Regions from separate parts of the Homo sapiens genome. Here regions 2, 3, 4 and 5 are each linked to region 1. The links are contacts of gene promoters, found by promoter capture Hi-C in blood cells and fetal thymus (Javierre and others, 2016). All regions are on one chromosome and are shown on one strand. Each heading gives the region's core, a stretch centred on a gene start or on the middle of the fragment in contact. The rest is flanking DNA. Distances are from core to core; before and after follow the strand shown.

Evidence for each region. The method cuts DNA at HindIII sites, captures the fragments that hold promoters and counts their contacts. A CHiCAGO score of 5 or more calls a contact.
Region 2: the fragment with the promoter of H2BC12 here is called in contact with the fragment with the promoter of ZNF322 in region 1 in 1 of 17 cell types (monocytes); the score reaches 5.1 in monocytes.
Region 3: a fragment that was not itself captured here is called in contact with the fragment with the promoter of ZNF322 in region 1 in 1 of 17 cell types (neutrophils); the score reaches 5.2 in neutrophils.
Region 4: a contact is called between a fragment that was not itself captured here and the fragment with the promoter of ZNF322 in region 1, in 5 of 17 cell types (M1 macrophages, M2 macrophages, M0 macrophages and 2 more). The highest score is 8.5, in M1 macrophages.
Region 5: a fragment that was not itself captured here is called in contact with the fragment with the promoter of ZNF322 in region 1 in 1 of 17 cell types (neutrophils); the score reaches 5.6 in neutrophils.

The regions. Positions count from the first base shown.
Region 1 is chr6:26,657,828-26,661,970 of GRCh38, reverse strand. ZNF322 (zinc finger protein 322) reads left to right here and starts at 2,225. Exons shown (of 4, transcript NM_024639.5): 1 at 2,225-2,530; 2 at 3,325-3,413. RefSeq lists enhancers at 1,815-2,014, 2,035-2,094, 1,794-2,294, 2,325-2,514, 2,525-2,574 and 1 more. The HindIII fragment of the contact is 5,113 bases long and covers 1-4,143 here.
Region 2 is chr6:27,144,764-27,148,906 of GRCh38, reverse strand. H2BC12 (H2B clustered histone 12) reads left to right here and starts at 2,052. Exons shown (of 1, transcript NM_001312653.2): 1 at 2,052-2,546. The coding sequence starts at 2,109. The coding sequence ends at 2,489. It overlaps H2AC12 (H2A clustered histone 12), which reads right to left and starts at 1,801. Exons shown (of 1, transcript NM_080596.3): 1 at 1,345-1,801. The coding sequence starts at 1,778. The coding sequence ends at 1,392. It overlaps MIR3143 (microRNA 3143), which reads right to left and starts at 1,281; the gene lies at 1,219-1,281. RefSeq lists enhancers at 1,415-1,664, 1,995-2,454, 1,709-2,625, 3,045-3,154. The HindIII fragment of the contact is 2,078 bases long and covers 1,162-3,239 here.
Region 3 is chr6:26,207,653-26,211,795 of GRCh38, reverse strand. No RefSeq gene overlaps it. Among named protein-coding and RNA genes, the nearest start is that of H4C5, 5.1 kb to the right of the region's middle. The HindIII fragment of the contact is 4,000 bases long and covers 333-4,143 here.
Region 4 is chr6:27,078,217-27,082,359 of GRCh38, reverse strand. No RefSeq gene overlaps it. Among named protein-coding and RNA genes, the nearest start is that of TRP-CGG2-1, 11 kb to the left of the region's middle. RefSeq lists a silencer at 3,525-3,604. The HindIII fragment of the contact is 979 bases long and covers 1,685-2,663 here.
Region 5 is chr6:26,357,995-26,362,137 of GRCh38, reverse strand. No RefSeq gene overlaps it. Among named protein-coding and RNA genes, the nearest start is that of BTN3A2, 5.1 kb to the left of the region's middle. RefSeq lists an enhancer at 1,063-1,112. The HindIII fragment of the contact is 3,727 bases long and covers 1-3,551 here.

The DNA of each region.
Region 1 (4,143 bases), core at 976-3,475:
ACCAAGCAGCTGGGGCTACAGGCATGTGCCACAGTGTCTGGTCAAAAACCTCTTAACTGAAACTCTCCTCCCTTGGTTGTCGTAGTCCACTTTTGTTTTCCTCATAATTTCCTGGCTGCTCCTTCTTACTCTTTATCCTCATACTTAAAACTAAAAATAATCTTTCTAAAGATTTTAAATGTGGGGATAATTGCCCTATTTCCACAGCTTGAAATTCCAAGAATTGCTTCCCATTTCATATAAGATAAATTCCACTAACTGAAATCACATTCAAATGTCTCTGTACTTATTTTCCATCTTCCATTTCAGGCTCATCTTCAGCCAACTCCTTACTTCTATTCCTTCGAGTCTCACCTTATGTCTCATCTCCTACAGAGTCTTTTCTGACTCTTTCTCAAAGTTCTTACAAAGTGCTTCACCTCTATGCCCCCAGATGACCTTATACAACTTCTACCTCTACCACACCACCTAAAACCCCTGCCGTCTCCATACCAGACTGTGAGCCATTAAAGGAGTGGTATTGAGTCTCACTGGCCTTTAATTCCTAACACACAGCATAGTGTCCTGTTTTTTTGGTTTTTGTTTCTTTTTGACATGGAGTTTCACTTTTGTTGCCCGGGCTGGAGTGCCCTTGGCTCACTGCAACCTTCACCTCCCAGGTTCAAGCGATTCTCCTGTCTCAGCCTCCCAAGTAGCTGGGATTACAGGCATGCGCCACCACGCCTGGCTAATTTTGTATTTTTAGTAGAGACAGGGTTTCACCATGTTGGTCAGGCTGGTCTCAAACTCGCGACCTCAGGTGATCCACCCGCCTCAGCCTTCCAAAGTGCTGGCATTACAGGCGTGAGCCACCGTGCCCGGCCTATGGTGTCCTGTTAATTGGAGGTGCTCAATAAATGTTTAACTGAATAAAACAATTAATAAAGAGTACTTTGGGCCAATGTATCCTGAAAGAAAAGGTTGAACAGTTCAATTCTACACATATTCAGACCTTGTTATATGCAGTGCAGAGATCAGAATCCAACTTGCTTAATTTTTATTCCAATAATTTTACACAATACACTCACCACTATTGAGGTAGCCATAAGTATAGTGACTGCAAGCACAGAATCTGGCATCAGACTGTTCACATTACAGCTTCATCAGTAATATGTGATCCTGGGCAAGCTACTTAATCTCTCTGTGCACCAGTTTCCTCCTAAAAGAATACATATCTCACACGATTTTTGTTACAACTGAATGAGACAATAGTGTAAAGTTATTAGAACAGTGTTTGATACATGCTACACACTCAAAATGTTATTATTCAAAATATTAAGACAACCCTGAGTGGAATATTTTGACCTTGAAAGTTTCATTAAAAATAAACATGAAAGTAGAATAAGCTGTAGACCCTCTGCGGAAGAATTCCACTAGTAGGAACATGATTAGTTAATACTGAATACGTGTCTCAGAGACTGCGCTCCCCAATTACTAAACCTCAGCAACTGGCTCACAATCCAAGTCCTTGGCCAGGCTGCCCAGGGTTTAGTTTTCCATATTCCTACTACTCATCTTTTCCCTTTGATAGCTGAGGACATTTAAAAACTGTTTTTTGTTGGTTTGTTTTTTTTAATTTAACAATTGAGCTGGGAGAATACCCAGTGTTCAACCTAAAGAACTGAGTTCTGTTCCAGCCCCACCACTAGGTGATTTACTCTTAGCTGATTCCAAATCAGAAACATAATCAGCAAGGACTGGGGAACCTCCCACAGTACTTTCTCTCGCTGCTGTTTTCTCCACCCACACAAGTCCACCACTTTTAAAAGCATTTCTTCCATCTCGCTGGCCACATCTTCGTGGATGACAGCGCTGCCACTGTGCTTCAGAATCCTCTATCTCTCCCAGATCTTTCCTGGTGTTTCTCTCAGGGTCAGTGGCATCTAATCTTTGTGACTCTACTCCTGGTTTGAGTCCTCGGTTAACAGCCTTGGGGAAACTGTAACATAAACTGCAACGCTGTTGGTGCCGTTTCTTCTTAGACAGGGTGGCAGCGATCGCCTCCCCCCGCAGCCGGCCTTCCACTGCGCCAGCAAGACCCCCTCCCACCAAAACGCCGAGGGCTCCCAGAGCGCAGGCGCCCCGGGCCCCGCCCCTTTCCGAAGACTCGGCTCCTATTGGCCCAGGGGCCGGGGTTGGAACGCCCTAGTGGCCGGAGAGGGGTGATCATGTGACTTGCGGGGGTGGGGCTGCGCCGGCCTCTTCCCAGCCAGCTTGAAAGGGTTTGCGTAGCCGGCCTTGTGGGCCCTTGAAGCGCTCTGTTAAAGCGCTCTGTGGGCGGCCTGGCCCCAACTCCTCTAGTCTAGGCGCACGAAGGGAGTTGCTCCTAGGTCTTGTCCGTGCCGGGTTCGCTTTTCTTTCCTTCCCGAAGCCTGGCCCTTAGATCTACTATCGCAGAGTCTGCGGCCGCCAGGAAGCCCAGATTCGAGTGTCCGGAGAGTAACCGGAAGTGCTGTCCCCAGGCCTAGGGGCGGCGCCGGCGGCTGCCAGGGTAAGCGCGGCCTGCGGGGCCCAGGGGTGGGATGGGTGCGCGGTGGGACCCAAGACCCACGGCCACAGTCGAGTGGGAGCAGCCCCTGTTCCTGGACACTGAGCATGGTCTGGTCTCCGCTGACGGCGGACGGAGGACTGAAAGATGGTCAATGAAAAGTTGAAAGAAGAGAACCTTAGTACGGTAGTTCCTAGAGATAGTAAACACTGCAAGGCACTTTTCAAAGCAATATAATCTTTCATATATATCGAGGAAAAAAAGGACCTTGAATGGATTTTTCGCTTCATCTTCAGTGCAGAAATTAGTTATGTTGCAGTTGAATCTATCTGCAGAAAAATCTGGTTTGTTTAATCTTCCTATAACCATTTCTTTTTGGAAAATGGAATTACAGATAACTTTATATTATATACACTTATCACATGCACTTTGGGGTTTGTAGTGGTAGACGAATGGGTCTTTGATCTTAGGAGTTGAGATAATACAAACAAAAACAATTAGCAGAAGGAGAAAAAACAAACGAAAAACGAGGCTTAGGGCTTTGTTATGAAGTTACAGTTAGTAATAGAAAGATTCTTGACATTTTGTCTAGAGCTGGTCGGAACTGATGGCTACCAGTGGCAGGTACTTCCTGCAGGAGAAACAGTGTAAGCAAAGATGGGAAGAGGTAAGCTATGGTTGAAGGATGCTCACTAGAATGGAGAGGAAATGGGACCAGTTTTCTAGGCCAGCTCTAGAAAAATTATGAATTATAAATTTCACAAGGTCATCGTCTACATTATTGATTTTTCCTCTAGGAGAGGCAAGAATTGAGTGTTGTGAATAGTTCTGAACTAGAGACCTTTTGAAACCAAAAGGAAGATGGTCTTGAGTCTTTCTTGTTACGGTAAGTGGTATACCAGGCTCTGTTTCTGTATAAATGTGGATGGGGGTGTGGGGTGGGGCAGGGTGAAAGACAGGAAAGTATGGGAGAAGATATATGGAAAAAGAGAATGCCCCTTTCTTAGCTCCTAAGATAGCAGAGTGATAAAACTGAGCCCTATCCTACCAACTTAAGGCTATTTTCTACTCCTTTTCAACATGCATGCATATTCACATTAGGCTTGCAGTAATTGCTTTTTGATTGATTTGTAGCACAAAGAGGGTAGTATGCCTAATGCTTAGGCAGGCTCTGGAGTCAGAAGATAGGTATTGAAATCCTGGCTCTGCTGCTTACTATTTGTAAGTTGTTGGGTGATTATCTAACTGCCCTAAGCATCAGGTTTTCCATCTATAAGATCCAAACACTGGTATTAATACCTATTTCATAGGGTCCTTGGGAGGACTAAATGAGATAATCCATGTAATCAATGAAAAATAAATGAGAAATTTCCAAGTCTAAGGCCTATAAACACCATCTAATTTTTAAATAATGCTTTACTAACTTTGTCTCTTGGTCCCATATACCCTTTAAGGATAACCATGAACTCTCAAGTTGTATGAATTAGCCTGTCTGCTTGGACTTTTGTCGTGTTCCAGTTTATTCCTTTCACTTCGACCCTAGGCAGGAAAGAGTACTAGTCTCTTCCTAGGATGGGGCAAGAGAAGCATCCTGAAGGAGGGTACCCTGGAGCTAA
Region 2 (4,143 bases), core at 803-3,302, 490 kb before region 1:
TTTTAAGTGGCTTGAATTCCGTAGAGAAAAAATAAAGATGTATACATGTAATATTTCAATTAATATATATCCTATCCCCATAGGCATAGAGAGCGTAATGGGGCCCTCCATTTTAGAGAGGAGATAAACAAAGATGACCTCTTTATAGGTGTTACTTGATCAGAGACCTACATAGATTGAAAAAAAGTGAGAAAGGTAGTTATCAGGGGAAGAGGGAATTTAAAGTGCAAAGGCCTTAAGACAGAAAATGTGTTTGGCATTTTGTGGGAATAGCCAGAAAGCCTTGAGGCTATGAAGTAAAAGCAGGCCAAGTAATATCAAGAGGGGGTGGGGCGGAGGAAGGAAACTCATAGGGCTTCCTAGGGTAGGTAAATTAATGTGGACAAGCAATCAAAAGCAATAGCAATCCCGATCTAATAAATTTGATAATACAAATTAGCTAGACAGAAAAAGCTATGTTGTATCCTAAGCTACTACAAGAGTGCATTAATACACCTGCTCCAAAGAAATGGGACTAAGGATTTACAAATATGGGATTCAGGAAATTCTGCATCCCATATTCTCCTTCCATCGGAATCAAATTCTAATGCAAATGAGTCACTAGACTTTCATCACCTGGGTAAAGTTACTCTTAAGAGTTAGACCACTTAAGAATCAGGCTGCCCTTTCTTGCTTTTCAAGAATACTTAGAATTGCAAAATTTGCCTTTAAAGAATGGCAAGTATATCCCATTTTTATGGCTGTTTGACAACACTATTAATGTAATAGAATTATTACACTGGAGGCCGGGCGCTGTGGCTCACGCCTGTAATCCCAGCACTTTGGGAGGCCGAGGCGGGCGGATCACCTGAGGTCAGGAGTTCGAGACCAGCCTGGCCACCATGGTGGAACCCCGTCTCCACTAAAAATACAAAAAAACTAGCCGGTCGTGGTGGTGTGTGCCTGTAATCCCAGCTATTCGGGAGGCCGAGACAGGAGAATCGCTTGAACCTGGGAGGTGGAGGTTGCAGTGAGCCGAGATCGCGCCGCGCCACTGCACTCCAGCCTGTTGGAGACTCCATCTCAAAAAAAAAAAAAAAAAAAAAAAAACCACTGGAATTAGTAAATAGATTTCAGGGATTTGTACGTTTGATTTCACTTATTACCCCTGCTGAATAAGCTTCTCCGGAGTATCCTACAACAACTTTTGGGTCTTCATTGCTTTCCAGTGGGTTAATTTAGAAACATTGTAAAGAGTTGCTCCAGCCCAACCGCGAAAGAAGCGCTTTACAATGTTATCTAGCGAAGCAAACATGAAGTGAAACAAACATGACTGTGTCCAGCTTTCTCTAAGACAGTGTAGAATGGCTCTGAAAAGAGCCTTTGTTTTCCAGTTTTCACAACCTCGCTCCTTATTTGGCCTTATGGTGGCTCTCAGTCTTCTTAGGCAGCAGCACGGCCTGGATATTGGGCAAGACACCACCCTGCGCGATGGTGACTTTGCCCAGCAGCTTGTTGAGCTCCTCGTCGTTGCGGATGGCCAGTTGGAGGTGACGCGGGATGATACGGGTCTTCTTGTTGTCGCGGGCCGCATTGCCAGCCAGCTCCAGGATCTCAGCGGTCAGGTACTCCAGCACCGCAGCCAGGTACACTGGCGCGCCGGCTCCAACCCGCTCGGCATAATTACCCTTGCGGAGCAGGCGGTGCACTCGGCCCACGGGGAACTGAAGCCCAGCCCGAGAAGAGCGGGTCTTGGCCTTGGCGCGAGCTTTACCGCCTTGCTTGCCACGTCCAGACATACTGGTCACAACTTACTGAAAGTAGCCAACGAGGAAAGGCAGCGCCTTTTATAAACACTATTGGGCGCGAAAAAGAAGATATGTCATTGGTTAGGGTTGTAGCTTAGTTTTAACCAATGGAAGTACGTCTTTTGGATTTGCAGATTGGGTTGATTGGGTATAACTAACCTCTGACGTCACCCTAATAACCACCAATCAGATACAGGACTTTCACTCTTCACCTTATTTGCATGAGAGGTCCTATATAAAAACGACTCCTGGTACCTTGCTCCCATTACTTCCCGTTTTCTCGATCTGCTGCTCGTCTCAGGCTCGTAGTTCGCCTTCAACATGCCGGAACCAGCGAAGTCCGCTCCCGCGCCCAAGAAGGGCTCGAAGAAAGCCGTGACTAAGGCGCAGAAGAAGGACGGCAAGAAGCGCAAGCGCAGCCGCAAGGAGAGCTACTCCGTATACGTGTACAAGGTGCTGAAGCAGGTCCACCCCGACACCGGCATCTCCTCTAAGGCCATGGGAATCATGAACTCCTTCGTCAACGACATCTTCGAACGCATCGCGGGTGAGGCTTCCCGCCTGGCGCATTACAACAAGCGCTCGACCATCACCTCCAGGGAGATCCAGACGGCCGTGCGCCTGCTGCTGCCCGGGGAGTTGGCCAAGCACGCCGTGTCCGAGGGCACCAAGGCCGTCACCAAGTACACCAGCGCTAAGTAAACTTGCCAAGTAAGCGTCTTAAAGCCCAACCCCAAAGGCTCTTTTAAGAGCCACTTAAATTATCGATATTAGAGCTGTAAACACGTGTTCCTAATCCAGGCTTAAATTCGGGCGATCTTTTTAAAGGGATTATCATGATCTTATCACACTGAGTAATGCATGCAGTGCTTGTAATCGAGTCTGGCTAAGGAGAAGCCACATACACTTTGTTAGTACTGAGTGAGGAATATGGCGCCTAAAAAATTAGGGATGTGCAGGAAACTTGTGTTAACAGAAAGTGCTTCCTGGCTCTTGGCGCGAAAATGGATACTTCCGTTGTGTCGAGTGCTGTGACTTCCTGTTAGAACTTGTTGAAAGCCTATTGTGTCACGTGTACTTTCCACCATGTAATGGCGTTCTAACGTGAGTTTATATATTAGTAAATTTGGTTCCCGATGGCGTTCCAGTACGTATGGCTTTCGCTCGAGCAGTTACCTTATTTAACCTCTTCTAGGCTGTACCCAGCTCTGCCTTGCTTTGCTTCCCCCTCACCCCCTGATTCCATCTCTGCAGCCCACGGGACATCGGGAAGATGCCAGACCACCAGGCAGGATAGTCTGCAAGGGTAAGGGGAGGAGCACAGCTTTTCTCAGGAGTGAAGAAACGGAACATGAAATCATCACGGAGATTTTTGGAATAGTTTACTAGTTTTTAAGGCATGTTCAGCGTCAATTGGTCCAATCAGTAATTTTTCCTTTTGACAAGAAAGCTTATAGAAAAGGAAAATGAAAAGCAAGTAGATTCAGAGGGGAGACAACAGACAGACTAGAGACAGTCCGCCCCGAAGCAAGAAGTTGGAGTAGAGGAGAAGGGAACTTCCCCAGCAGCACAGGGTTTGAGCTAAGTGTTAGGTGGTGGGTTAGAATTAGGTGGTGGGTTTTATTGTGTGATTAGAGGCTAGAATGACTATGCCGGTGATGAGCAGTGTGAAACTTTTTTGGAAGAACCAAGTGAAAGAAAGAGTCCACGAATTTTAAGCTAGGTTGTTACCTGGCTAAATTTGTGATTTAGAAATGTAGGCCAGTTTCACAGGGGAATTTTGTGTGTGTGTGTGTGTGTGTGTGTGTGTGTGTGTGTGTGTGTATTTAACATATTTGGCCACGCATTGTTCTAGTCTTTGGGGATATTGCCCGCCCTTAGGCATTTGGAGATTAGCAGGGTCATATTGAAAAACTTCATACATGCAAAGCATATGTTCACTGTTGATCCAAGTCTTATTTATCCTACCAGTAATTTTGGGGTTACATTAATATTCTAAGAAATGTATCAACAAATAATTATATTTATTGTTTACCTATATAGGAGGCACTGATCTATATCTATACCTATATAGGAGGGCAGATCACTTGAAGTCAGGAATTCAAAACCAGCATGGCTAACATAGTGTGAAACCCCGTCTCTACTAACAGTACAAAAATTAGGGGGGGCGTGGTAGCATGTGCCCGTAGTCCCAGCTACTCGGGAGGCTGAGGCAGAATTGCTGGAAGCCAGGAGGCAAAGGTTGCAGTGAGCCTAGATCACCTCACTGCACTCCAGCCTGGGCAACAGAGCAAAACTCCGTCGCAAATAAAATTAAAAAATAAACTAAAATACACTATGCCAATGAATTCTACCT
Region 3 (4,143 bases), core at 1,083-3,582, 450 kb after region 1:
CACTTAACAAAAATCTCTGCTACTATATAAGACTCGATTTTTTTTTCCCTTTTTCCCTTTTTTTTCAGATGGAGTCTCGCTCTGTCGCCCAGGCTGGAGTGCAGTGGTGCAATGTCAGCTCACTGCAACTTCCACTTCCCGGGTTTGAGTGATTCTCCTGCCTCAGCCTTCCAAGTGGCTGGGACTACAGGCCAAATGTGTGCCACCATGCCCGGCTAATTTTCGTATTTTAGTAGAGATGGGCTTTCACCATGTTGGCCAGCCTGATCTTGAACTCCTGACCTCAGGTGATCTGCCTGCCTTGGCCTCCCAAAGTGCTGGGATTACAAGCTTGAGCCACTGCGCCCGGCCTGTGAGACTTGTTTTGTAAGGGATTCTTCTTGAAATATTTTCCTTTTCTGCAAGGGAAAGGAAATACTTCACATGTACGCTGAAGTATTTCATTTTATCATTTGTAAATTCATTTAGATTTGTATTTATTTTATTCATATCCATTCAGGCACTTGTTCAGATAAATTAAACACATAATTTGAATTCAATATACTCAGTGCAAGAAATAGTTTTGTAAAAGATATGAGAATTGTTTTACATAATCAGAACAGTTGAGGGGTCAGGAAAGGGATTTTGCGTGGTTCCCGATGTTCAGAAGAAAGTCTACATTCCTGTCATTGGCCTAACAAGCCACTTGTCCAAGCATCAACCATCTCTTCCAATACCGACATGATTTATACTATTTTCTGAACTTTCTGAGTTCAAGCAATTCTCCTGCCTCAGCCTCCCAAGTAGCTGGGATTACAGGCGTGTGCCACCATGCCTGGCTAATCTTGTATTTTTAGTAGAGACAGTGTTTCACCATGTTGGTCAGGCTGGTCTCGAACTCCTGACCTCATGTGATCTACCCACCTTAGCCTCCCAAATTCCTGGGCTTACAGGCGTGAGCCACTGTGCCTGGCTAATCTTGTATTTTTAGTAGAGACAGTGTTTCACCATGTTGGTCAGGCTGGTCTCGAACTCCTGACCTCATGTGATCTACCCACCTTAGCCTCCCAAATTCCTGGGCTTACAGGCGTGAGCCACTGTGCCTGGCCTCTTTTCTGACATTCTATATAATATTTAATTCCTGCTCTGCTTCCCATGAGGGCATGTTTTGACTGACCAAATAGACTGAAAGCTCCTCAAGGGCAGGAAAAAATATAGAGGGAGGCGGTGGGGAGGTGTTGTAATGCTAAACAGTGTTGTTATGGATAGCCTCAAGAAGACTATGATATTTGAATACAAACCTGAAGGAAGTGAGTGAACAACACCTGCAGAAACCTAGAAGCTGAGTGGACCACTCAAGGGGAACCATTAGTACGTCCTTCCTGAGAGTGATGAGTACTTCTAGCAAGTTCCAGGAACTAGTCGAGTTGGCTAGGAAGGAGAGGAAGAGTAGCGGGATTTGAGGCTAAAGAGGTAACAAGGATCAGACAGTGTGGCGCTGTAACCCACTGAAAGGACCTTGAGGTGTTTTTTTGTTGTTGTTGTTGAGACGGAGTCTCGCTCTTTGGCCCAGGCCAGAGTGCAGTGACGCTATCTCGGCTCACTGCGTGCTCCGGCTCCCGGGTTCACGCCATTCTCCTGCCTCAGCCTCCCGAGTAGCTGGGGACTACAGGCGCCCGCCACTGCGCCCGGCTAATTTTTTGTATGTTTGGTAGAGACGGGGTTTCACCGTGTTAGCCAGGATGGTTTGGATCTCCCGACCTCGTGATCTGCCCGCCTCGGCCTCCCAAAGTGCTGGGATTACAGGCGTGAGCCACTGCTCCCGGCCTTGAGTTTTTCATTAAGTGACATGAGAACCACTTGGGGGGGTTTCAGCAGAGGAGTCATCTGATCTGAATTGCCCTTTATTGGAATTCCTCTGGGAGAACCAGGTGATGATGGTGTTGCAATAATAAAGGTAGGAGATGGCAGGGCTTGACCAGAGTAGCAGCAGTGGGAATGAGAAATGGTTGAATTCTGTTTGTGTTTTCAAGGAAGAGCTCATAGAACTTACTGATAGATTATTATGTAGGATGTGAAAGAAAAAGAGATGATTCCAACTAAAAGTGTATAAATGCCATTCACCAATTTCAAGATGATGAGATTAGCTGTTTGGCAAAGATAACGAGATTCTGTTGAAATTTGAAGTTCATATTAATTGGACTTTCAAGTAAATAACAGGGTCTCTGAGTATGGAGTACAACGCTGTAGGCTGGTCATTTAGTGTTCATGACATAAATATATATATATAGTATCTCCACAGCAACAAGGAAATATCAGTTCAAAAGAATCAGATGGAGATTTTCATTCTCCAGGTCCATCTTCTCAGAGCCATCAGAAGTGGCAGTGCTAAGGGAAGAGAAAAGGCAGCATCAGATACAGAGCTCTGAAGCTGGTTTCCACGAATAGGCTTCAGGATGCCTGAGAACACATAGAATTGCATCAGGGGATTCAAATGTCCCCAAATATGTGGTGAGAGTGGGTGTATTTTGGAAAAACTGTGAATATCTATAACTGGATCTCCAAAGTGATCTCCCCATGGCTCTAACTTTAATAGATTATTTAAGTGAGGATTCCAGTGTTATTTCATACTCTTATTAGTAAGGGAATTTTTCCACATTTGTAAAATAGGGATAATATTTATTGTTTGTTCTGAAAATTACAGGAGAAAAGGAAAATTACTGGAGAAAGAAATTGTAAAACTGTAAGTTAGGAATTCACATGTCATGTATACAAAAAAACACTCTTTACTTCTTTGACCCAAAACTTTTTCTCTTTATTATCTACCTTCTTTCTTAAGATATTTAATCCCATCTTGTGGCTTTTTCACTCTTACGGCAATTATGGTTTGACGACTGTGAATTATATCTCCATGTTTCTTTTCTAACCTGCAGGTTTTTATAGCCAACTGCCTATTTCATATCTTTCATATCTTTCTCTTAGATATGTAACAGGCATCTTAAATTCTCTCTGGATATCCAAAACTAAGAATTTGAATCCTCTCCAAAACTTGTTCCTTATTTTTCCACATTTTAGCAATTGATACCTCCAGTTCCAGTTGCTTTGGCAAAATCATTGGAATCATCCATACATTTTGGTCTGTCTTTCATACTCTACACATTCAGTAGCTCAGAAAAGAACTATGAACCTTACTTCAAAATATATATAGAATCCAACCACTTTTCACAGCCTCTACCACTAACACACTGGTCCAAGCCACTGCCATCTCAACTGCATTACTGTGGTACCCTCCGAACTGGTCTCCTTGCTCCTATCCTGGTCTCATCATAGTTTATTCTTCATCAGGCATCCAGATAGCTCATTAAAAAAATAAAAATCAGGCCCGGTGTGGTGGCTCACGCCTGTAATCCCAGCCCTTTGGGAGGCTGAGGTGGGCAAATCACGAGGTCAGGAGATCAAGACCATCCGGGCTAAAACGGTGAAACCTCATCTCTACTAAACATACAAAAAATTAGCTGGGCGTGGTGGCACACACCTGTAGTCCCAGCTACTTGGGAGGCTGAGGCAGGAGAATCACTGGAACCTGGGAGGCTGAGGTTGCAGTGAGCCGAGATTGCGCCACTGCACTCCAGCCTGGGCGACAGACTGAGACTCTGTCTCAAAAAAAAAAAAAAAAAAATATATATATATATGTGTATGTGTGTGTGTGTGTGTGTGTCTATAAATCAGATTATGTCAGTTCTCCGATCAAACCCTTGCAGTGGCTCCCATCTCACTCAGAGTAAAACAGTAGTCACACTGGTCTGCAAGGCCATATAGAGACTCGTCTCCATTTGCCTCGCAGATCATATTTGCTTTTTCTTTGCACCCTGTCTGATACTGGCAGTGGGTTCTTGACCCTCAGAAAATAGAAATCGACCAAGAATCTAAGATGGACTTGAGCAAGGAAGTTTATTAGGGCTTTCGGCTTGAGCAGAAAGGGAGACAGCAACCAGAGGTATACTTGCAGCTGGCTCCTTGAAAGCAAGCTAGTCTAGTTTGTTATTCTTCTGTGAGCTTCGTCTAGGTGACATCATGGCATGTTTGGGGTGGTCTGTTGGATACACCTTTGCAGTCCCTTGTCATGCTTTTTCCTGTGTCTCAGGTCTCATTGGCAGCTTAAAT
Region 4 (4,143 bases), core at 925-3,424, 420 kb before region 1:
TCCCACTGATGGATCTGAGGGGCCCCTAAGCGGAGTTGTTGATGTGTTGATGTTTCTCAAGGGCCATTAGGAGAGGTAGATTAATTAGCTATTGCATACTGTCACGAGATGAAGGCAGTTTATAAATTAGAGATCTCTGATGTCTGGATATACAAGGCAGGTTGGGGCTACATTGGTAAGAAAAGAGTCATCACTCAAATGGTGCAATTATGGCAGTTTACAACTGCTGTGTAACCAGTGAGTCCAGTTGACTCTGTAACCAGATCTACCTGTGTCTGTTCTCCCAACATTGGTAACAGGAGAGCTACTTTGATCTTTACCAGTCCAAGCTAATTTTTACTCTTTTTGTCTGAACAGGATTTTACTCTTTCACAATCAACCTCTCCAATCTCACTTCTTTTCCAGAACTTACATCAAACTACAAATAAATCCCCCAAAACAAAAGAAACCAGGATGTTTGATCTAACCTTTCTATAAGCCTTGTCCCCTTTCATTTTCTACTAATCACTAAGAGATGCCTTAGATTTATCTTAATTTGTCTTAAAGGTCCCTGGCAGTGTGAACTGCCTGAATTTAGGCTTGTACTCAGGTCTTATACCAGGAAACTTTATAACTTTTGGAATATTAGTTATTGCTTTTCTGCCTCAGTTTCCTCCAGTGCCAAATGAAGAGACTAACATCTATATCAATGCATTAAACAAAGCATTACATGATCTGAACTGGATAGCCTATAGTGAAATGAACTACAGGCTTTAATAACAAGAAGAGCAGTATGGACTAATAGGTTTGGAGTAAGAACTGGTTACATATTTAGTCAGAAACCTGGAATTTGTCAAAAATGAATGTCCTGCATACACTTCACCACCCTGATGTCCTTATCAAATATTTTTATGTTTGTTTCTTCTTATCTTTTTCTAGGGTTTCACAGTTTTCTGGCCCTCTCTTCATCTTCCCAAGGTTCCAAAGCTCTGATTCAGATTAGAGATTAGCTTCTGTAATACTAATAAGACACTTCCATTTTTTTGACTGAATAATAAGAAAAATATCAGAGGAAGGAAGGGTGACTGGTCTTCCAAGTTGTTTTTGGAATCATGATTGAAAACTATTTGAAAAAACATGCTTCACATTCAGATAGATGTGTAGTGCTCCATCCAGTTCTAATACCTAATAGCTTAGGCAGGTAAGGAAGTGCACCCATTTCAGCTCCAGTTTTCTCAACTGAAAATGAGATTAGTGCTCCCTGCTACATAATGCCAGGGTAAATTTACAGGGTTACATCAGGTTATACTTACTTATAGCCTGGCCAAAAATAAAAGTGGAAAATTTCTGAAGAGCAAGTATGATTTTTAATCATAATGATTGTTAATAGATGCTTCCATTAAACTGGCATATGGTTAATGAAGTTGACTTCTGTATATGATACAATATTATATATTGGATTAGGAGACTTTAAGGATGGATGCAGAAAGAAAACCTTCAAGATATACACACACACTCTCTCTATCTCTTTCTTAATGAATTAACTACTTAATAGGTAAAGACAAAGTTGGCCCACTTGCAAATCACAGAAATGCACCAAAAACGATATGAAGAAATTTGATGAAAGCTAATAATGCTGATAGAGTTATAATGCAGGTGAAAATGTAAGCCTAAAAATGAGTTTTTTCTAGAAACCTGAAAAGCTTTTTTATCTTTGTGATTTTTGGATGAAACCAAAGAGGGAACCTTATAGGAAGAACCACCCCGGACCTCTCTTACAGTACAAGATCCTGAACACTGGGACAAAGATGCTCAAGCATTTCTAGGGTCATCTTCTGGAAATGGTCCCCTTCATGTTTATGACCCCAGGTAAAGATTAGATGCAGAGTCAAGGTCCTCTGGCTCACATAAACTCCCTTGCTTAGTCAAAGAACAAAGCAAGATGCATACTTCTGAGGGAAATATTATATGGCATATGTGAATAAATAAAAGAATTGTCAGGTCTACTCACCTTGGTAGCTATGGTGTAGTAAAGCTCTGGGTTAGTCCTTCTGGCAAGGTAAGGCTCCCCAAGCCATGTTTGTGCCTTCTGGATTTGTAGAGTTCTTGGTTAACAAACTATTACCAGGACTCAAATTTTCAAAGTTGTTTTTCTGTCAGGAAGACGGAAACCCTCTGCAGGATCCTAGTCCCTGAAGTACATTTTCCCCTCTGTCTCCACAATTACGTTTGTTTGCCTCAGGAGTTATTTCAGTCTTAATTGGGGTTTAACTATTGCAATAGAAAGATGTACAGTGAAAAAGTAAACAGCTAGCCAAGTTTCTGTATCCAGGGTTTCCCATTTTTCTGGCCCTCTCTTCATCTTCCCAAGGTTCTAATGTTTTGAATAAAAATGAGAACCAGGTCAGAAGACACATAATAAGTCACTTCTTTTCTTTCTCAAGGCTTTCTTTATACGCAGGGTTATGATAGATGATGACCAGCCCTGGAGACTCTGCTTTCTGAGCTTATCCCAACCACAGGCCTGGACAGGACGAGCGTCACCTTGCTCTACCGATGAACGTTGGCAGTTTGCAGTCTTTGCCATCAGTGATTGTTTTATTCTTTGTCTGTGAAACAACAAATGGGACTGGAAAAGCAAAAGAACCCTCCATTTTTATGAGCTAATCCTGCCTTATAAAGCTTCATAATACTTCTTTAATTCATTATACCCAAGAATGATCCTTCTATAGGTTATTCATTCTGCCCTCAAAAAATGACCTTTCCAGACACTAATGCAAAGGACTATACATAAATGGTGACACAGGGTTGAGATTAGAGGTGAGAATGGAATTATTTTTCTCACTGAGCTGGGCTGTGAGGCAGGCTTCTGGTCACTGGTCTTCATTCAATGTGACAGTATCCTCATCTAGAGGTGCACCTGGTTCATATCAGATGCCAAATTACTTGTGCAATAAGTGAGCAAATAGCCCTTTGAGATAAGTACTCTTTTCATCCCTGATTTTGAATGAGGATATTCAGGCACAGAGAGATTGAGTAAATTGCCCAGTGATACACAGATAATGAATAGCAAAATCAGGATTTGAACCCAGATAATCTAATTCAGGTCATGTGTTCTATTGCCCATTGTTTTGCATGTGTCTTTCTGGGTCAGCCTCTCTTGCGATCTGTTTCACTGTCTAGGAGAGGTGGCTAACCCAGTCTCAGTATCAATCCCATCTTGCACAGACTCTGTCTCCATCTTTTTCTCTGCATCCTGGTTGTGTGTCCTTCAGCCTCTCCTTCTATTTGGAGTAATTGCCACATGGTGGCAGTGTTGTAGGACTTTCTCCTTAGTTCAGCTAAAAACCGGGTTCTTGTCACATAACCAGGAAAGATTAGGCTTGAGGATGCATAGAAGGGTGAGAAAAATGGAATTTATTGCGCGAAAAAGGAAAAAGAAATACTTTCAGCAGAGTGAGAGGGAGGCCTGTTAACCTGCTCCTGCCCCACCACACAGGAACACAAGAGGCTGGGCTCCTCCCCTCTGCAAACCACGCTAACTTCGTGGCTCCACCCCCTTTTCCCAGTGCACAGGTGGGTCGGAGGTTCTCTGGGGAGCCCTTTTTACTCGGCTGTCTCAACAGTTTCGGGGTTTACATGTGAACTTTAATGATTTCTGGCTGGGTTACATTGGATGGGCAATATTTGATGAATTACTTGGCCTCTCCATTGCTATACTTTTTCTTATGTAAAATGACATTGAAAACAAGATGCAAGATGAGCCTAGAGAATCTTGTTGTGTCAAAAAGTAAGAATGAGCTCAAAGAATGGTGAGAATCTGTCAAATAGGGAGCCAGCTTGAAGGGACTCCCTCCAGCCAAATTTGAGAAAATTTGAGAATCAAACTGAATAATGATTTTAAATGATTGTTACCTATTGGATACTACAAGAATCCATTAGTCCACAATTAAAATGAATAAATGAGGGAGAAGGAAAAGACCTAACTTTCAATGAAAAAGCAACTAGTAAATGTAAAAGAAATAATGAAATTAGAATATCACCACTCGATGACTATCATAATAATAATTTCTTCAGGAAGGAATCATCAATGGGTGCTAAAACTAATAGGTGGAAGTTTAGGTGAGCAGGATATCAATATTGCCTCAAAGTGTCTTCCCCAAA
Region 5 (4,143 bases), core at 439-2,938, 300 kb after region 1:
AGGACCAAAACCTTGTGGTCACCCTTGATGCCCTCCTTTTTCACACCCCACCTGTAAGTTTATCAGCAAAGCCTTTTTATTCTATCTTGAAAATAAATCCAGCATCATAACATTTTCATGGCTCCTCCCTGGTACAAGTCATCTGCATCTTTCCCCTGGATCACTGCAGTAGCTCCCAGCTGGGTCTTCAGGCCTCCATCCACCACCCCTACCCACAGCCCATCTTGGTCTAGCATGTGAAGTAACTTCTTAAAACATAAGTCAGTCCAGTCCTTTTTCTGCTCTAACCTTCCAGTGGCTCCCCTCTCAGAGGTAAAGCCCAGGTCAGCATGATGACTTTCAAGGCCATACATGATCTGGCCCTCAACCCCCTCTGGCCTTGTCACCTCCTCTTCTCCTGATCACCCTGTGTGCTCTGCGCACCCCAGCCTCATTGCTTTTCTTCACACAAACCACAGTGCTTCTGCCTCTGTGCTCTGGCACTGCTGTTCTCTCAACTCGGAATGCTTTTCTCCCAAGTATTCTGTGCCTCGCTCCCCTTGCTCATAACCACCCTATTTTAAACTGTAACTTCCAACCGGGAACGAGGGCTTACAGGTGTAATCACAGGACCTTGAAAGATCGAGGGAGGAGAATTGCATGAGGCCAGGAGTTCAAGAACCTGGGCAGTATGCATAGCAAGATCTCTGTCTTTCAAAAAAAAAAAAAATTAGGCTGCAGTGAGCTATGATCACTCCAATGTACTCTAGCCTGAACAACAGAGCAAGACCCCTTCAAAAAGAAATGCAAGTTCTGCTATTCCAGGTTTATTTCTCTCCTGAGCACTTATCATCATCCAGCACACCATATATATTACTAATTATTTCATTTCCTGTCTGCCTCCTACCACAAGTTATGTTGTTTTTGAATGAGAACTTTCTGTTTTGTTCACTTCTGTGACTCCACCACCTAGAATAGTGACTGGCACATAGTTAGCGTTCATGGATCCTTGTCAAATGAATGAATTAATGAATTGACCAAATAGAGAAGCCTGAGGGAAGCTGGGGTGGGGGCTCCCCGATGTGGGTGCAGAATTAGCCTGAGACAGGAGAAAGAACACCTGCTTGTTGAAATCAGAGGAAACAGATCATGAGGGACAGGTATAGGTGGTGGAGCAGGAAGTTTGGGACCTCCCTTTTCTATTTTCTCTCTGAGGTGGTAGACTGTGGCACCATCTGAGATGTGGGGAAAGGATGTGGTGATGAGGATAACGGCTAACGGTCACTATCACAGATACGCGCTGTGTTCGCACCAGGTGCTCTCCACACCGTATCTCATTCCTAAACATCTGCTAAAGAAGTAGATGTCATTAATTCTATTTCTAGGTGAGAAAAATAGAGTTGCAGAAAGGTCAAGGATCCTGTCCTGGTTTGTCTGAGTGAGTAGAATAGGGGTCACCCAGGTGTGTTGACCAGGGAGAGGAAATGGGTGCAGAGGCATGAAACTGCATGATATGTTTGGGACACTGCAGGTGTTGTGGTCAGGCTGAGGAGCAGCACATTGCCAGGATGTCCAAAGGTAGAGCAGAAGTAGGTGGCCTGGACCACTGAGTGCCTGCAATGCAGATAAAAAGTCCAAGGAGGCCGGGCGCGGTGGCCCACGCCTGCAATCCGAGCACTTTGGGAGGCCAAGGTGGGCGGATCACAAGGTCAGGAGTTCGAGACCAGCCTGGCCAATATGGTGAAACCCCGTCTCTACTAAAAATACAAAAATTAGCCAGGTGTGGTGGTGGGTGCCTGTAGCTCCAGCTACTCGGGAGGCTGAGGCAGGAGAATTGCTTGAACCCAGGAGGGAGAGGTTGCAGTGAGCTGAGGTCGCACCACTGCACTCCAGCCTGGGCTACAGAGTGAGCGAGACTCCGTTTCGAAAAAAAAAAAAGAAAAAGAAAAAGAAAAAGAAAAAAAAAAGTCCAAGAAAGCTGGACTTCATCTTTCAGGCCAGAGTTTCTTCAGCAGAGTTATGTAAAAAACTTGTTTAGACAAAAACTAATTTTTATAATACATCTGAAAATATGTCTTCTAACTACTGAAAGAGATGGGAACTAGTTAAAAAATGCAGCATTAAAAGTTAAAATTTGTTATTAGGGAAGTCATTGGTCACTGATATGATAAACAGTAGTTTCCTTGGAAACTGGAACCACTCCACAACAGTTGATTATAAAGATGTGAACCAGATGATATAGAGTCTGCTTAGGTTACAATTTTTAGATTTAAATTGGCATTAAAATAATTTTTTAAAATTTTAACATTTCTGTCCAGGCGTGGTGGCTCATTTCTGTAATCCCAGCACTTCGAGAGGCCGAGGCAGGCGGATCACTTGAGGTCAAGAGTTCGAGGCCAGCCTGGCCAACATGGTGAAACCCCATTTCTACCAAAAAATACAAAAATTAACTGGCCGTGGGGGCACATGCCTGTAGTCCCAGCTACTCGGGAGGCTGAGGTGGGAGAATCGCTTTAACCCCGTAGGCAGAGGCTGCAGTGAGCTGAGATCATGCCACTACACTCTAGCCTAGGTGACAGGGTGAGACCTTGTCTCAAAAAAGAAAAAAGAAAAGAAAAGGATGATTGTTGCTCTTGGTTGAAGGGAAGCAGGAGCCCAAGGGGTTAAGTGGTTTGCTGGTGGCTGCTGTTGAGAGAAGGGCCATGGTAAACTGAATCCCAGAGGTCTGCAATAAAAGAAGAAAGAGGCTGGGCGTGGTGGCTCATGCCTGTAATCCCAGCACTTTGGGAGGCCAAGGCGGGTGGATCACGAGGTCAGGAGTTCGAGACCAGCCTGACCCATGTGGTGAAACCCCGTCTCTACTAAATATACTAAAATTAGCTGGGTGTGGTGGTACATGTCTGTAGTCCCAGCTACTTGGGAGGCTGAGGCAGGAGAATTGCTTGAACCTGGGAGGCGGAGGTTGCAGTGAGCCTGGGTGTACTCCAGCCTGGGTGACAGAGTGAGACTCTATCTCAAAATAATAATAATAATAAATTAATTAATTAATTAAAAAATAAGAATGAGCCTCCTCTATTGGGAAAGGTCATCCTCTTTGAGCACACAGTTTTGAGAGGGAGAAACTTCCTAATGCTCAGCAGCAAATTTTTTCTATTGCTTAGCCCCAGGCCCCCTCACAATGTGAGGTTTCGTCACATTGGCCAGGCTGGTCTTGAACTCCTGACATCAAGTGATCCGCCCACCTTGGGCTCCCAAAGTGCTAGGATTACAAGCATAAGCCACCACGCCCAGCCGGATCATTTAAGGATATATGAGTAGCTGCACTCACCCCCTTGTTAGAACCTCCAAAAAAGTTCCTTATTTTTCTCATTTTCCAGAATAAAAACAAATTACTTTTAAAATCAGAAAACTCATAAACAGATTACTATTTTAAGGATTAAATCGTCATCCCAGGACAAAACCTGGGTAGCCATAGGCAAATCACTTCCTCTCTGAATATCAATGGTTTCATTTATAAATGAGGTGGTTAGACCACAGTGATTTCTACAGTTCTCGGATGTGCTTAGAAAGCTTTTTTTTTTTTTTTTTTTTTTTTTTTTTAATAGAGACAGAGTCTCACTATGTTGCCTAGGCTGGTCTCGAGGTCCTGGGCTCAAGTGATCCTCCTGCCTAGGCCTCCCAAAGTGCTGGGATTACAGGTGTGAGCCACTGCATTTGGCCTAGAAAGCTTTTTGTTGTTATTAAATCATATGTGCTCTATAATATAGAACATATGATACCACACTTTGGTGACCTATCGATTTCTTCTCACATGTTGTAGTTGCCTTAGAATGTGGAGGCAGCTGGAAGGCACGATGAACAGCAATAGCAGATCACTGGCCTCTGACAACTGTCATTCAGTTGAGAGATGTGGATTAAATATGCCCCCAATTATTATCTGTGTAGTTGTGAGCACATAAGTCAATAGACATAGCGAGTGCTTCCCATGGTTCTATTACTTTATTCCCAAGATTCACACGTGACTATGGCCAGCAGCCTCTGGATATGTTAAGATGAAGGAGATATCAACAAAGCATCATGAAAACATTATTATTATTATTATTATTTTCTTTGAAAGGGAGTCTATCTCTGTCGCCCAGGATGGAGTGCATGGGTGCAATCTCA